2 separate regions of the Homo sapiens genome follow, and region 2 is linked to region 1. Evidence: promoter capture Hi-C in human tissues and cell types (Jung and others, 2019). All regions are on one chromosome and are shown on one strand. The core of a region is centred on a gene start or on the middle of the fragment in contact, and the rest is flanking DNA. Distances in the headings are between cores, read along the strand shown. Region 1 holds the start of KIAA0408. Region 2 has its middle 44 kb from the start of KIAA0408.

Region 1 (5,552 bases), core at 2,068-4,567:
AACTGTGTGGTGAAACTACCTTGCTGACTAGAAAGTATTTGCCACTGGAACTTCTTAGGAAGAATGGTGTGGTTTGAGATAATAAGAGATAAATGCAGATTTAACCAAAGAAACTAAAAAAGGATGCAGACTAATTTCAAGCTACCTGGAAAAGAGGAGCTATGATAAATCCATGTTTTATCCCAACTGTCTTTAAACATTGGAAATGTTCAGAAATCACCATAAAGTCTTTTCTACAATTATGTAGCAAATGGCTCCAATTTTTCCTTCTATTCCTAACTCTTCTTGAATCGCTTCCATGCTACTGTTGAAAGATGCCAGGCCTTTCTCTTTTTAACCTACCGGAAGATCATTCAGGAATACCCTAGATCAGTCTTGCTCTTGATAACAAGACTATATCTAAACCCAGGTAACAGTCCTGAAGCAGACCGAATCCTGCACCTATTTGCAAAGAGCCAAACTCATCCCTTAATATGGAGAAGGACCAATGTATGGAGCTTTTCCTTTCCAGGCCCAGAGCAATTGCTAGTGCCAAGAAATGTAATAGTTATGGATCAGAAACAAGCCTTTGCAAGAACATTTCTATAGAGCAATATCTGTGCCAATTTTTTGTGGAAGGATTTGGCCTTCTTAGCATCTCAGTCTTGTCGTAAATATAATGTTAGATGTAACGCAGCCAAACATATTGCTTCCACCTCTAAATATAAAGTGGTGGGGGGGGGGCATAGAATTGTTTTGGAGATTAAGTGAGCAAAAGGGAAAAATGCTTAAAAGAAGTGCCTAAACACTGCTCTGGATCATAGCAAATGCCTGAAAAATACTTGGTTCTTGTTTTCTTCCTTCTGTCCTTTGTTCCCTCCCTTCCTCTTCTTGTCTTTCCTCCCTCCTTCCCTTTCTCCTCTCTTTCTCCATCTATCCCTCTCCATGTTGTTCTCTGGAAAAAAAACAGATTATTTTGGTCTTTATTTTAAAACGAGATAGAAGCAAGTGTAATTGTGTGAACTCTCATATTCTCCATGATCTTCTTTTGCCTTTTTTCAAATATTTTAAAGATACATGTCACATATTTAAAGAAAAAAGTTTTATTGTTAATAAAAATGTGAACAAATCTTATGTAAAACTGCTTTTGTTATAAATCTGACTTAAATATTACAAAAAATATCAAACTGAAGGGGCAACTTTGTAGAGATAGAATGTTTCGTAATGAGAAGTTATGGGGTAAAGTGGTTCAGCAGATTCAAAAACTCAATTTAAGTGCTCTCTACTGGGGCAAAAATAAAAGTTCTTTTTGTTCCTAGTTGTCACTCATTTTCTCCCACAGATACTGGCATCTATGTGGGAGAGAAGGAAGGATTTCTGCTATCTGCATCCCCTACCCCATATCTCTTTGGCTCTCCAGTTTATGTTCTTCCTTCTAGAATTCCATTTCAGAATAAAAATTTATTAGAGCAAATGTAAGAGGACAGAGTGAGCTGCATTACTTAGTCACACACCCCAACTCTAAACCAGCATTGCATAATCCCTTTTAACTTACTTCCCCTTTCCAGGGCTGAAAGCCAGAATTATAAAGAGTTGTGAGTGGGTTGCATAAGTATGGTGATGGGAGGCAAATAGTTCTGCTAGCCTTCCGGCCCTACCAGTAAGCAAAGTTTAAGAGTAACACACAAGTCTCACAAGAAATTATTTTCACCCCCAAATTAGCCTCAGTTTGGTCATGGCAGCAATTCTTTCTCTGAGGGGTGCTCCATTCTTAGGACACCTGGGTCACTACCCTTTCAACCTCCAACTCGCCCATTGAAAACTGGACTGCATCCAAACAAACTAAACAGCGTTCCTTAGGGGCAGCTGCTCCATTGCTACTTCTCTCTTTTTAGATTATTGTTTAGAGTACTTGTTTCTTGCTGTCCTTATTTCCTTTTGCTAAACATATCACTTTTCACATAATTAAAGATTTTTCATTTATAAGAGGTTACATATTCCAATAGAAATGCCACACACAGTAGGTACTGCTAATCTCACAATTCCTAGAAGACTCATTTGGCCTGAAGATGTTTTGCTTCTGCTTAACTTTGATGGATTAGGAATTCCCCAGCTTATAACCTATCAGAGTAATGTACCATTTACCTCCTAAATTCTCTATCCCTTTCTCCAGGCTATTATAATCACTTGAATTATTTCAATGAATTAATAAATCTCATTCCTCTCTATTGTTCACTTGCAATTGAATCTTTCCAAAGACCACCATGATTTGATTTTGTTAGAGTAAAAGGGAAATTTTTTTCATTGCTGTGTATTGCTGATTTAGCACATTCCTCATGCTCCAACAAGGTCAAAGAGACACTACCACATGCAATTCCGAATGAATCAACTTTACCGTTTCATTTAATTATCTTCTTCCTTGTTTTCTTTACAGTTATTTACTCAAATTAGAAAACATCCAAGCTGTATGCACACTGATTTTACTTATAAAATGCAAACTTTAAAAGCAAACATTTGGTTTGAGTAAACAAATGTCTAAAACTAACCATCGTGAACAAAAGACATAGTGGTAAGTTTCCCTCCTAAACGTAGATTATTCAATTATGAATGGCATAGACTTCAGCTCAAATTACAGAAACACTAACTCTACAGTGAGTCCACCACCACCTTAGATAAAACTAAAATTTATTTTTCACCGCAATTTTCAAATACCAAGTCTCCAGGATTGTGACCTTTAATTTGCAAATGTTAAAAGTCTTTATATGAATAAAAAAAATCACATTTGAATAAATATACTTAGTGAAAATCAATGATGGGCAAAGTGCTTTTCAAACAACTGAGAAGCAGTGTTGGAAAAACAGTCTCAAAGAGCGGATGGTACTGTCAGTCCACAGTTGGGAAATCCACCCTGAGCAGCTGAACAGCCTTTTTCCTAGGAGTCAGTACAATCTGTTATGCACCCCGCCCACTGTTTTTAAGCCCAGACACAGACAACAGCAGAGACAGATGTTGAAATTACACTCCACTTAAACAGTATCCATAGTTTAAAACATCTCAACAGCAGCCCCTTTGTATCCTGCCATAATTAGTCACTTGCTTGTAAACTTGCCGGAAAGAAACATACCTTTCACACTGGGGAGAAATCCTATGGATGCTCGACCACTGGTCAATTAGCAGTGGAAGAAAGTGGATGGCTAGCTGTCTTAAAGAGAAAAGTCTCAGCTCGGTGAATCTCGATTCTTTACAAGAAAAGGGGATGCAAAATAAGTCCAACCATTCCACAGAGCAGTACTGACAAGTCCCTTTGAAACCTTCACCACTTTTACAAGTCAAAAAGCTGCTCAGCTTAGTGTCACAGCAGCAGCTGAGACTACTGTGACGTCAGTTACTTGGAGGCGGCCTTCAAGCCACCTCTTCCAACCAGAGCTCTGTAACTTTAGAGCAGCTCATGCTCTGGGTAAACAACTCCAGGTCCAGGACATTTTTAGCTTTTATAATGGAGCCCAGTATTTTCAAACTTGCCAAAAGAGCTGGTTGTTAACATCATACAATGACAATGGCCAATTTTAGATTTATTTTATTAGGAAAGTAAACTCATTTTTTTATAGGCAAGAATTATCTCCCTCCTTCCATAATTCTTTCTCCTTCTCAGCTGGTGGCAGGATGTACTCTGCTGCACCTTTAGAAGTTTGCATCTGGATGTGGCAGAACAATATGTGTAGCATAATTATATATATTATGCACTCTCAAAAGATCTGTGAAAGTTATCAAACTTCTATCTTCAAATAAAATAGAAATGGAACATAAAGTCCAACCTCTTAGCTCTCTGTGATTCTGACAGTGTGTTGCTTTTATCTACAGTAGTAGCGATGTCTTTACGTTAGAGAAAATCAGAGCCCATGGGAAAGGATGAGATTTCTTATTGTGGGAGGACAAAACACACACACACACACACCCCAAAAATGAGATACCTATGGGCTTATTTTCCACTAAAGTGTGCTGCAGCCATAGGAAGAGAAAGCAGCCTAAGTGTATGGAAAAGCTCTCTAAATCATGATCAAATCAGCCTGTTCTGAAATGCTAGGAGATCTTGCCTCCCCAGCGACATTTTCAGGTTTATTGTGGCTTTGTACACACATGCATCTGATGATATTTGGTTTAATTTAGTCAAAAAAGTCTCTAGAGCAATTTTTTGCCTAACTTAGCAAATACACAAGTTTAAACAATAAGGTCTTATCTTCAAGTCTGAAGAGCTTCCCTGGTGTGGTCTTTAAAGTAATACATATTCACTCACATTATTTTCACCTGCTTCCAGATAAACATTTCATGAGGAGCTAAAGTTTAGTAATAGTAACCTGCTCACAGTAGGACTTTAATACATGTAGGACAATCAAATGAAACCATACTCTGTGTCTGGAAAGCCTGACATCATAATCTCAACAGCAATAACAACAATAACAGTGATAGTTATAGTAATAATAGTGATTATTCACTGAGGGGCAACCCTCTGCAAGGTTCTGTGCTAAGTACTTTGAACAGACCTTTATCTGAGTTCACCCTCAGAGCAATTCTGTCTCTAGATACTGATAATCTGATCTTACTGATAAAACCCAAGCAAGGCTCATTGTGGTAAAGCATCATGCAAAAGTTCATAGAAATGCACCCATGTGGAGGAAACGGGTTTGAACTGTTTTGTCTGATTGCAAACCATGGAATTTTGTCATAGAGATCTAAGTTTCAATTCTGCTGCCACCACTTATCTGTGTGATCTTGCAGACCCTGATTCTTCCTTAAAGACATAATTATATTTACTTTAAGAGGCCATAAGAATATGAGGGAATATATATAGCGCCAAGCACACAATAAAGGGTAGCTCATGTCTGCCTCCATGCTTATGAGGCTAGGAAGAAGATTCTTTGAGAGAGGGAAAGGGAGGAGGGAGTTGCACAAAAACATCAATACAGAATTGTCTTAACATTGTTTCTGGCCGGGTGTGGTTGCTCACACCTGTAATCCCAGCACTTCTGGAGGCGGAGGCAGGTGGATCACATGGGGTCAGGAGTTCGAGACAAGCCTGGCCAACATGGTGAAACCCTGTGTCTACTAAAAATAAAAAAATTAGCCGGCTGTGGTGGCTCAGGCCTGTAATCCCAGCTACTAGGGAGGCTGAGGCAGGAGAATTGCTTGAACCCGGGAGGCAGAGGTTGTAGTAAGCAGAGATGGCATTCCTGCACTCCAGCCTGGTTGACAGAGCAAGACTCTGTCTCAGAGAAACAAAACAAAAAACATTGTTTCCTTTACCTTTTCTTCTACTCCAAACTTCTTAACTTCTATGTATCACTTGTAAATCAAACTAAGACTATTTTGTAAATCCTATCGAAAATTCAGATAGTATGTGTCTAAGTTACAAGAGATGTTAGGTTGGACTATACTTCCTAAGTGTCACTCAGTAGTACCCATTTCAATCTCTTTTAATGGCTGTCCCAGTGTGATTGTCCCAGGGCAATCACAAATAATTGCCCTATGTTTTAGAAAGAATTATGTCATTCATACCTGATGACATACTAATTTAT
Region 2 (5,552 bases), core at 2,233-4,732, 43 kb before region 1:
CAGCCACCTATATGAGGTGTCTGTTGGCCCCTACTGGGAGGTGTCTCCCATTTAGGCTACATGGGGGTCAGGGACCCACTTGAGGAGGCAGTCTGTTCGTTCTCAGAGCTCAAACACTGTGCTGGGAGAACCACTGCTCTCTTCAGAGCTGTCAGACAGGGACATTTAAGTCTGCAGAAGTTGTCTGCTGCCTTTAGTTCAGCTGTGCCCTGCCCTCAGAGGTGGAGGGAGTCTAGAGGCAATAGGCCTTGTTGAGCTGTGGTGGGCTCCGCCCAGTTCCAGCTTCCCGGCCACTTTGTTTACCTACTCAAGCCTCAGCAATGGCAGATGCCCCTCCCCCAGTCAGGCTGCCATCCTGCAGATTGATCTCAGACTGCTGCACTAGCAGTGAGCAAGGTTCTGTGGGTGTGGGAGCTGCCAAGCCAGGCATGTTAGAGAATCACCTTGTCTGCTGGTTGCTAAGACCTTGGGAAAAGCACAGTATTTGTGTGGGAATGTCCCGTTTTTCCAGGTAGTCTGTCACGGCTTCCCTTGGCTAGGAAAGGGAAATCCCCAAACCCCTTGTGCTTCCCGGGTGAGGGAATGCCCTGCCCTGCTTCAGCTCATCCTCCGTGGGCTGCACCCACTGTCCAACCAGTCCCAATTAGATGAACCAGCTACCTCAGTTGGAAATGCAGAAATCACCCATCTTCTGTGTTGATCACGCTGGGAGCTGCAGACCAGAGCTGTTCCTATTCGGCCATCTTGGAACGCCCCTCCTCCATAAGTGTATATCTTTTAGCTACTGAGCATCCATGAGTGAATTTTGACAGCTGAAGATACCTATAACAATCTTGCCAAGATTAGTGGTCTGAACATTTATGGTCTCATGGTGAGGCAGTCCTAGGTTCCCAGGCATAAATTATTTAAAAATATGAAGAACACTTCTGACTCATCTACCTGTTGAAACCTACTGTCATTTTCTTCAAAGACATAATATCATTCCCTTTTTCCAAATTTCATTAGGTACCCACTGGGGTACTGAATAAAGTATATAACTTTATATTTACTATCCCAGCCTCATTGGAAGCCTCCCCTCCAGGCAAGATGGTCCACTCACTGTCTTCCAGATTTCAAGAGAGGCCTCAGGAATTCCCACTGCCATGCCTTTGCCAACAAACTTCTGCACTTGGCATGATCTATGCCCCTAGGCCGAGACAAATCCAGCATCTGTCAGGAATGCTCCCTTGGTATAGTCATGCTTCAATTCTGATCTTCTAGACATTTAATTTCTTGGAACATTCAAAATAATGAATTTGATACCAAGATCAAATTCCAAAAAATTAAATGTCTAGAAGATCAGAAGTGAAGGAGTGAAATCTTGAGCAAGTGCAGTTTTTTTTTTTTCTTTTGAGACAGAGTCTCGCTCTGTCACCCAGGCTGGAGCGCAATGGCATGATCTCGGCTCACTGCAACCTCTGCCTCCCAGGTTCAAGTGATTCTTCTGCCTCAGCCTCCTGAGTAGCTGGGATTACAGGCACCTGCCATCATGCCTGGCTAATTTTTGTATTTTTGTAGAGACAGGGTTTCACCATGTTGGCCAGGCTTGTCTTGAACTCCTTACCTCAGGTGATCTGCCCACCTTGGCCTTCCAAAGTTCTGGGATTACAGGTATGAGCCACCACAACTGGCTTGTGCAGTTTTCTTAAATACCAATTTAGTCATCCATTGAATTGTGACAAGAATGCCAAATTTGCAGAGCTGATGTGAATGTTAAACTTTGTAAACTCTAGAAAGTTATGGAAATATTAGGTGTATCATTATAATTCCTGTTCAATACCATGTATTATTTATATTACCTTATTTCTCCATCCATTATTCTAAAGTTTTTGAGAGTGCTGTATACTTCTTATAATTTGTTTCCCCAGTATGCTTGGCCAAGTGTCCTTTCTATTCTATATGAACAAAAATATTTGTCAATTGATGAACTAGATTTGAAACAGTGATGAAATGCTTTCAGATTATTTCATATTTGACATCTTATTCATTGGTTAGTAATATGTGAAGATAGGGCTTAATTATTTTTGTTGTTGTTAATTACAGATTTTAGGTAATTTAAAACATAACCATTGTTACAAGAGCTATATATTCTGTATATTAATTTAAAAAAATGTACAGTTCTCTTTTTCATCTGTCTGCTGTAAAATCAATACTGAATTGGATCAAATGCCAGCTCGTATGCACTTTCATCTTTGAAAGTTAGGACACAGCTTTGAGTCTCTCTGACCGCAGACCAACTTGTAATTTAACCTACCAGAGGCTGGGTGTGTATCAAAACACAGTGGCTTTACTCAGATCTTTTAAACAGCTACAAAAGTGAAAAAGCTGAGGATGGAGTGGAAAAAGAGAAAGGATACTTTGTTTTAGGGACCTGTTTTATTTATTTATTTTTTTGTATCCATTGATCACAGGACATCAGTGGCTGCTTCAGGGACTTGGGTTAGTAGTCTCCAGGGTTTACTTTACTCTGTATCTAGGGCAAACCTGACAGTCTGGAGTAGAGCAAGAAAAATATGTAATACAGTCAACTAGATTATTTAAAAAGCCACCTTTCTGTTATTCTTATGGGGTTGAGGAAATTGTTTCTCTATATGAGTATAAAATTTATCACCAATGTTCAAGGCTTTAAAGCAGAGTTGAAGGCAACCTGAGAATCACTCAGTATTCTTTCTTCCCTTACGTTTTATATCTGCTACTGAATTATTAGTGATGGCTCACTGTGCTTCCAGTGAGGGCAGAGGGTGTTGGGCTCCTCCTAAACAGGGAGAAAAAAGAACAACAAGGATATATATTTGTTTCATGCTGCCTACTGGTTTTGAATGTTTTAGGCTATTTAATTGGAAGAAGAAGGAATTGTTAAAGTTACTTTAAAACTCTACAATTGCTTGATTAACAAGGAGGAGAAAAACTATTGGATAAAACATACAGTTATTTAAATAAGGTTTAGCAATTCAGCAACATCTATCAAAATCTTTATTATTTTCATGTTTAAAAAATACTTTAGGCTGGGCGTAGTGGCTCAGGCCTGTAATCCCAGAACTTTGGGAGGCCGAGGCGGGTGGATCCCTTAAGGTTGGGAGTTCGAGACAAGCCTGACCAACATGGAGAAACCCCCTATATACTAAAAATACAAAAATTAGCTGGGCATGGTGGCACACGCCTGTAATCCCAGCTACTCAGGAGGCTGAGGCAGTATAATTGCTTGAACCCAGGAGGCAGAGGTTGCGGTGGGCTGAGATCGCATCATTGCACTCCAGCCTGGGAAACAAAAGCGAAACTCTGTCTCAAAATAAATAAATAAATAAATAAATAACCAACCAATGAACAAAACAAACAAAAAAACCAAAGCAAAACAAAAAAACTTTATACGGTAAAAAGACAGCAAAAATAGATTTTTGTTCAAAGAAGAAAAGATATACTGCCATTGTTGTGGTTCTGTAGATGATTTTAGTCTCTGGCTCCTCAACTGTGCACTGAAGTGTAGGTTGATTTCAACCATGGCTTCTCCAGCTTCAGTCATTTATCGAAGCTAAAACCATAGTTTAAAGATACGTGAAAAAACAGAGCAAGTGGAAATTAAGCTTGATTATGGTCTTTCATGTGTTACTTTTGCTATCCTTGATTGTGTATTTCTGTTGGATCAAACACTCCTATGTTACTGCTTGGCACCATAATGAATCAATATATATTCCAAGTGGCAAGAGGTAAGTTGAGAAGGAATATGAACCAATGCAACAAAATGCGCATAATACAGTGACAATAGTATGGCCAATCAATCTTGGAAATTACCCACTTGTTTAATTTTGAGCAACATGATCTAGCATTAATGTAATCACACTCTAAATCAGACAATGTAATTATGAAGACTGAGAGAAAAATGAGTCTGCAACTGAGGAGAAAGAAGACAAAGACCATGTCCTCTTCCTCTACCTATCAAAAGCTTTAAAATGTTTATTTACTCACACATCCTATTCCTGATAATGTTTCAAAAGAAAACAGTAGAAAAGGCTGGGCATTGTGGCTCACGCCTGTAATCCCAGCACTTTGGGAGGCTGAGGTGGGCGAACCACGAGGTCAGGAATTCAAGACCAGCCTGACCAGCATGATGAAACCCCGTCTCTACTAAAAATACAAAAACTGGCTGGGCGCGATGGCTCCCGCCTGTAATCCCAGCACTCTGGGAGGCTGAGGCAGGCGGATCAGGAGGTCAGGAGATCGAGACCATCCTGGCGAACACTGTGAAACCCCGTCTCTACTAAAAATACAAAAAAAAATTAGCCGGGTGTGGTGGCAGGTGCCTGTAGTCCCAACTACTCGGGAGGCTGAGGCAGGAGAATGGCATGAACCCTGCAGGGCGGAGCTTGCAGTGAGCGGAGATCGCGCTGTTGCATTCCAGCCTGGGCAACAGAGCAAGACTCCGTCTCAAAAAAAAAAAGCAAAAAAACCCAAAAATTAGCCGGGTGTGGTGGGATGCGCCTGTAGTCCCAGCTACTCGGGAGGCTGAGGCAGGAGAATCGCTTGAACCGGGGAGGTGGAGGATGCAGTGAGCCGAGACCGTGCCATTGCACTCCAAGCCTGGGTGACAGAGTGAGACTCTGTCTCAAAAAAAAAAAAAAAAAAAAGAAAAAGAAAATATGTTATTTACCAAGATGTCATCTATCATATAACATGAAATATAGCACAATCATTAAAATACTGCCATTAAAGTGATATTAAACTAATAACATGGGGTAATGTTAAGAAAAAAAGTGAGACATAAAATTTTGTATATGTTGTATGTTAAAAGCTAAAAAAACCAACATAATACATAAAATGTAAGAAAATATACAAAAATGCTAATCCAGATATAGGTAATATTGAATTTTCTCAACTTTTTTTGTAGGTTTTGTAAGGACAATTAAAATTTTAAAATAAGAAGCATAATTCTCCCTGCTGAAAATAAAAGATTTTCCTTCTCTTCTTTTTATCAGAGAATTTATTCTAGAAAGCTTCTAATTTTAAACATAATTATCCTCAGTATCTGTGAGCGATTGGTTCCAGGCTCCCCATGACCCCTGGGATACCAAAATCCAAAGACGCTCAAGTCTCTTCTATAAAATGGCATAGTATATGCATGTAACTTACACACATCCTCCTGAAGACTTTAAGGCATCTCTAGATTACTTATAATACCTAATACAATGTCTACATATCACTTCCTTTGCATGGACTGAATGTAGTACTTGGTATATGGCAAACTGAAGTTTTGCTTTTTGAAGCTTTGTGGAATGTTTTTTTTCCCCCCAAATATATTTGATCCATGGTTGATTGAATCCACAGATGCACACTCCTGGATACAGAGAGCCCACTGTACTCTCTTGGTTCATTAAAATGTGTATAAATCATTTTGAAGACTAGATAGGCCCTTTGTCAGCCCAGGAAGGTCTCTCTCAATAATCTAGGAACAATGCCATTGAAATGTACACAACGAGGGAGATAGCATCCTTAATCTCCCAGTTTCTGTGGGAGGACAG

Evidence for each region. Contacts are between HindIII fragments. The study calls those that stand out against the background at their distance.
Region 2: a contact is called between a fragment that was not itself captured here and the fragment with the promoter of KIAA0408 in region 1, in 7 of the 25 tissues and cell types used here (H1 embryonic stem cells, adrenal gland, bladder and 4 more).

Annotation. Positions count from the first base shown.
Region 1 is chr6:127,456,072-127,461,623 of GRCh38, forward strand. KIAA0408 reads right to left here and starts at 3,318. Exons shown (of 6, transcript NM_014702.5): 1 at 3,104-3,318. All of the region lies in intron 7 of SOGA3-KIAA0408 (SOGA3-KIAA0408 readthrough), which reads right to left. The HindIII fragment of the contact is 15,174 bases long and covers 1-5,552 here.
Region 2 is chr6:127,412,984-127,418,535 of GRCh38, forward strand. It overlaps the pseudogene LOC100287856. Among named protein-coding and RNA genes, the nearest start is that of KIAA0408, 44 kb to the right of the region's middle. RefSeq lists an enhancer at 41-845. The HindIII fragment of the contact is 3,360 bases long and covers 1,803-5,162 here.